2 separate regions of the Homo sapiens genome follow, and region 2 is linked to region 1. Evidence: promoter capture Hi-C in human tissues and cell types (Jung and others, 2019). All regions are on one chromosome and are shown on one strand. The core of a region is centred on a gene start or on the middle of the fragment in contact, and the rest is flanking DNA. Distances in the headings are between cores, read along the strand shown.

Region 1 (2,700 bases), core at 120-2,619:
TCCTGCTCAGAGGTGCTCTGGCTGCGCAGGAGCGGGCCCTTGCCCTCCCCTTCCATCATGCCCCCGACGTAGATGCTCTGGTAGGGCTGGTACTCCAGGGGCGGCCAAGGGGGCCTGCTACCGCCATTGGCGTCGATCAGGTTGTCCTTCAGGAAGCGGGGGTTCAACTCGGCGTCCTCGTAGTCGCCGTCGACGCCGCAGCTGCTCTCCGAGGAGCGTCCCCGGTAAGGGGGCCTGGATGCATCCCCCACGCTCGAGCCCGCGCCGTGCTGGGACTTTTTGCGCTCCATCTGCATGGCCTGGCTGCCCAGGGAGCTGATGCGGTCCGACACCTCTTTGTCGTTGACCTTCACCAGGCCGCGCTCGTGGTGAAACTCGACGTTCACGTAGAAGGGCTTCTCGGCGTCCGCCCCGGGCTGGCCATGGCCCTTGCGGATCCGCTCGAAGTTGGACCTGAGCGCCGCCACGCTGGCGGGGGGTCCCCGGTCGTCCCGTTCCCCCGACGCGGCTGCCCCGGGCCTGCGGGCGGTCCCGGGCCTGGCCTTACCCGGAGAACCCTCGCCGTCGGGCCGGGCCTCGGGCTCCTCGGCGGGCGGCGGGTCGGCTCCGTCGGCGGGCGCTGGCTGCGGGCGCGACGCGGACGCTCGGGGCTCGGAGGCGCCGTCGGGGGCCTGCGCCGCGCGCCGGAAGCCCCATCGCTGCCGGTCATAGCTCTTCTTTTCCTTGGCCAGCAACGTCTGCAGGTAGATCATGCGGAAGCGCTCCTGGTTCACCTCCTGCTCCAGGCGCCGAATGGAGGCCTTGCAGCGCTCCAGCTCCTGCTCGATGTCGCCCACTGAGCGCAGCTCCATGCGCGGGGGCTCTGAGTCCGGGAACTGCGCCTTCCACGCCTCCGCGAAGCCCACCGGGTCCACCATGGCGCGGCCGGCCTTACCTGCGCCGCCGGGCTGCGCGCGGGGCCCGTCTCAGCGGCGGCGCGGCGCCTCGCCAGCCCGGCCCCGGGCGCCGGGCGGCCCCCATGGCCCGCGCGGCGGCGGCGGCGGCGAACAATGCCCGCCCACTCCCTGGTGGCAGGTGAGGCGGAGCGGGGCGCTCGGCGCGCGGGGCGGGGCGCGCCGGGGGGAAGGGCGCGGGCTGCGCGCGCCGCTATTGTGTGCGGGGCTCCTCCGCACGGCGAGGCGCGGGCGCTGCTCTCCGCTCCGCCAGGCCGCCGCCAGACTCTGGCCACGGCCCGCGCGCTCCTCGCCTCTCGCTTCCGCACCGCCCCACAGCCCCGCCGCCGCCGTGCCGCCGCCGCCGCCGCCGCCTCCTCGGACGCTAAGCTCAGCCAGCCGGCTCTCGCCGCACTCCCGCCCGGCCCGCACTCTGCGCCGCAGGAAGGGGAGGGCCGGGGGGAGGTGGCCGCGGCGCGGATGACGGAGCCAGGCGGGCCTCTTAAAGGGGCCGCGCCGTGGGCACAGGGCGGGGGGGCCCCCTGGAGGCGGCTCCCCCATCGAGCCGCCACCCTCCCCCCGTCCCTGTGCCTTTTGGGAAACTGAGGCCCTAACAACAGCGAATTGGACTGTGCAACTCGCAGCCCAGGGGTCCCCCGTAAAAAAGACACCGGACTCCCTGGTCCATAAAGACCTTTCCAATACAGAGGTCTGGGCCAGTTCTGCAGTCCTGGAACAGGAACACTTGGCTCCCCTCCGGCCAGGAGGACTTCTCCGGCCAGTCCAGCCGCGTGTCCCCAAGCCCCACCACCTACCTCATGTTCCGGGACAAGAGCTGCTCTCTCTGGCAGAACTCGCAGCAGTCCTCCGACAGAAGCAACCTCCCCCCTCTGCCCCTACCACGCCGCAGTGCCATAAGCGTCACCGGCACTGCCCAGTCGTCGTGTCAGAGGCCACCATCGTGGGCATCTGCAAGACCAGGCAGATCTGGCCCAACGATGCGGAGGGCACCTTCCATGGAGACGCAGGTAAGTTCCTCACACCTCACAGCCTGGCCTCTCACCAGCCTCAGGGCTGGGCACACTAGGGACCACCCAGCAGGGCCCAACTCACAGAGAGGCCAGGACCAGGCAGGTCACCCCGCAAGGCAGGGAGGGCCAGGCTGAGTAACCAATGCCAGCACCCTTGTTTCAGCGGGCCTCTCACGTTGTGGATCTGCTGTGGGTGGCTGCCACACGGGTTTGTCACAGCAGGACCACATGATGGATGATAAATAGGGATTTCTCCCTCAGGTCACTCAATACCCACACCTGCCTTCCTGTGTGCTGAGCCATGTGTTTGTCCCCTGGCCTCTCTTGAGCTCCAGAGGTCAATGTAGTTTTTCCAGGACGACCTGACTCAGAACTTCCCTGATTAGCCTCCCTCTAAGGGGGCGGCCAACCTGCACTGAGGTTCACAGGGCTGGGTGGAAGACAGCCCAGAGCAGGGAGTGAAACAAAACCTTTGATGGTTCTCTGGGGACACAGAGATCTGAGACACAGTGGAGAGCACTCTGCAGGGACTCTGATGGGCACAAACTGAAAATACCCAAACCAGCCCGCTGGGTTGGGGGAAAAGGAAACAGGATTTGGCAAATGAATTACTGGGCTTGAGTCCTGACCACCTCTCCCTCTCTGCCTCAGTTTCCTTGAAGTGAGAAGCACATCTGCCTCCAAGTGCTGTTGTCCCTGTGTGGATGTTAGGGATTATCATGCCCTCCTCCCAATGC
Region 2 (2,700 bases), core at 142-2,641, 360 kb before region 1:
ATTTCCAAGTCTCTCGTGGGCCCTCTCCCTCCTTCTCTCTGCTCCTCTTTGGGGCACACCTGTGCTCTATGGTCTGCATGGAGGGGACCCTACCCTGAAGGGGTGGCCTGCCCCTCCACACCTCTGGGTGTTTCTCATCAGGTGGAATGAGAGACTTTACTTTTAGTTTGCCCCATTAACCCTGGCTTCTTCCGAGCGCCCAAGCTTACCACAAGGCTCACTGTAGACGTACTCGGGAATCTCTCGTTGACTTGTCCTCAATGACCACACTCGAGAGTCCCTTCACCCTAGAGAAAAGCATCCACGTTGGGCACCAGATGGAGTGGCCTGCGCCTCCACAGCTGTGGGCATTTCTCCTCAGGTGGAACGAGAGACTTGAGAAAAGAAAGACAACAGAGACAAAGTATAGAGAAAGAAAAGTGGGCCCAGGGGACCGGCGCTCAGCATATGGAGGACCCGCGCCGCACCGGTCTCTGAGTTCCCTCAGTATTTATTGATCATTATCTCTACCATCTCGGAGAGGGGGATGTGGCAGGACAATAGGGTAATAGTGGGGAGAGGGCCAGCAGGAAAACATGTGAACAAATGTCTCTGCATCATAAACAAGGTAAAGAAAAAAGTGCTGTGCTTTTGATGTGCATATACATAAACATCTCAATGCCTTAAAGAGCAGTATTGCCGCCAGCATGTCCCACCTCCAGCCCTAAGGCAGTTTTCTCCTATCTCAGTAGATGGCATATACAATCAGGCTTTACACCAAGACATTCCATTGCCCAGGGATGAGCAGGAGACAGATGCCTTCCTCTTATCTCAACTGCAAAGAGGCCTTCCTTCCTCTTTTACTAATCCTCAGCACAGACCCTTTACGGGTGTCGGGCCAGGGGACAGTCAGGTCTTTCCCTTCCCAAGAGGCCATATTTCAGACTGTCACATGGGGAGAAACCTTGGACAACACCTGGCTTTCCTAGGCAGAGGTCCCTGCGGCCTTCCGCAGTGTTTGTGTCCCTGCTTACTTGAGATTAGGGAGTGGTGATGACTCTTAACAAGCTTGCTGCCTTCAAGCATTTGTTTAACAAAGCACATCCTGCACAGCCCTGAATCCATTAAACCTTGAGTCAACACAGCACCTGTTTCTGTGAGCACAGGGTTGGGGCTAGGGTTACAGATTAACAGCATCTCAAAGCAGAAGAATTTTTCTTAGTACAGAACAAAATGGAGTCTCTTATGTCTATTTCTTTCTACATAGACACAGTAACAGTCTGATCTCTCTTTCTTTTCCCCACACTAGCCAAAGGCAGTCCTTGTCCCACAGGGGCCCAGGAAGAATGTCCTAGTAGATGGCAGTGGCAGAGGGAGGCCCTAGAGGTACAGCAGTGGAGGGGACATGAAGCTGCTCCTGAGCTGGACCTGGGCGTCCTCTAGTTCATCCCAGTGTGGGGTTTTGAACTGTGCACTCTGTCAGCAAAGAGAATTTGGAGACAAATAGAAGAGGGGCTCCAAGGTAGTGGGAGAAGCTCAAGTGAGCATTTACTCAACAGCCTCCACCACCAGAATCTTTCTCAGGGGCTGAAGATGTGGTGGGTGGCACACAGCGTCACACAGGACACACAGGTCCTGCGGAGGAGACGCGGTACCATGAGATACGAGGAAACACAGACGTCAGGAGAAGACAGTGGTGGAGAGCGAAGTGCTCCAGGCCAGAGCCTGTGGCCTCCAGCTCCCCTTACAACAGCCCCCAGAGGCCGCCCCCAGTTTGTGGGTAAGGAAGCTGAGGCCCGAAGACCTGAATCAGTGACCAGCAAACATCGAGGCAAATTTGAACAGAGGCTCAGCCTCAGTGGGCGGCTGCGAGCTGCTGAATTGTGACTGAAGTGGCACACAGGGACAGGGACGGTGCTCAGGGCCGGCCTCTCATAGGGCTTTTGAGCTGGGGCTCGATGGACCAAGTCTTGGCTCTGGGCTGGGCACACGGCTTTTTGGCAGGCATCTCACTTCTGGGTAGCCTGCCTGTGGCTCCATTCTAGCGACCAGGAGCCTGAGGCCCACAGAGCTTACGGAGCAGCCTGAGTTCTCAGGGCTGGGGAGAGTAGCCAGGGGCTCAGACCTCGCCGTGCCATGCTGGCCCGTCCACCATGCTGCCCTGTTCTCACACGGCCAAGTGCTCCCAGCACACAGGAGGAGTCCAGGCGGGAAAGGGATGGAGGATGAACGTGACCAGGCCTTGCCTTCGGAGGGGTGAAGGTCTTCCCAGTGTCCCCCAGCCCCCCTGCCCACTCCCAGAGGGACGGCCCTGCAAGCGGTGGCCACCAGGACCTTGCAGGGGGTGAGGGTCCAGGCTGCCGAGGAACCAAGGAGAGGCCGCCCTCGCTTCCCACATGCCCGGGCCCTGGGTCCCTCAGCCTCCCGCTGGCCTTGCCACCCAGCTCTCACAGACACTGGCTCAGGAGCAAGCAGGAGACCCCTGGGGTGACCTGCCAGACCTGCTGGGCCCAGGCTCAAACCCTGCAGCCACTCCCGGCCTGGCCACTCCACCATGTCTCCCAGCCCCATCTCCCTCTTGAGGGCCACGTCTCTGGGTTTTGTGAGGCTGAATTCTTCTCAGCTCTCAGGTGTTAAGACTGTCTCCTCAAAGAGGCCTTCCTGAGCCCCCGCTCCATGACTATCCTGCCAGCATTCTCTCTTCCTCGGGTGGCTGTGGGT

The links. The method cuts DNA at HindIII sites, captures the fragments that hold promoters and counts their contacts. A contact is called where the count stands out against the background at its distance.
Region 2: a fragment that was not itself captured here is called in contact with the fragment with the promoter of BCR in region 1 in 1 of the 25 tissues and cell types used here (spleen).

Annotation. Positions count from the first base shown.
Region 1 is chr22:23,179,178-23,181,877 of GRCh38, reverse strand. BCR (BCR activator of RhoGEF and GTPase) reads right to left here and starts at 1,369. Exons shown (of 23, transcript NM_004327.4): 1 at 1-1,369. The coding sequence starts at 917. It also overlaps a transcript of RSPH14 not described here and the pseudogene BCRP8. RefSeq lists silencers at 839-918, 939-1,208, 1,279-1,518 and an enhancer at 1,639-2,449. The HindIII fragment of the contact is 16,176 bases long and covers 1-2,700 here.
Region 2 is chr22:23,534,646-23,537,345 of GRCh38, reverse strand. It overlaps LOC124900476 (endogenous retrovirus group K member 5 Gag polyprotein-like), which reads right to left and starts at 465. Exons shown (of 2, transcript XM_047441690.1): 1 at 210-465. RefSeq lists enhancers at 279-895, 1,511-2,127, 2,128-2,700. The HindIII fragment of the contact is 4,075 bases long and covers 1-2,700 here.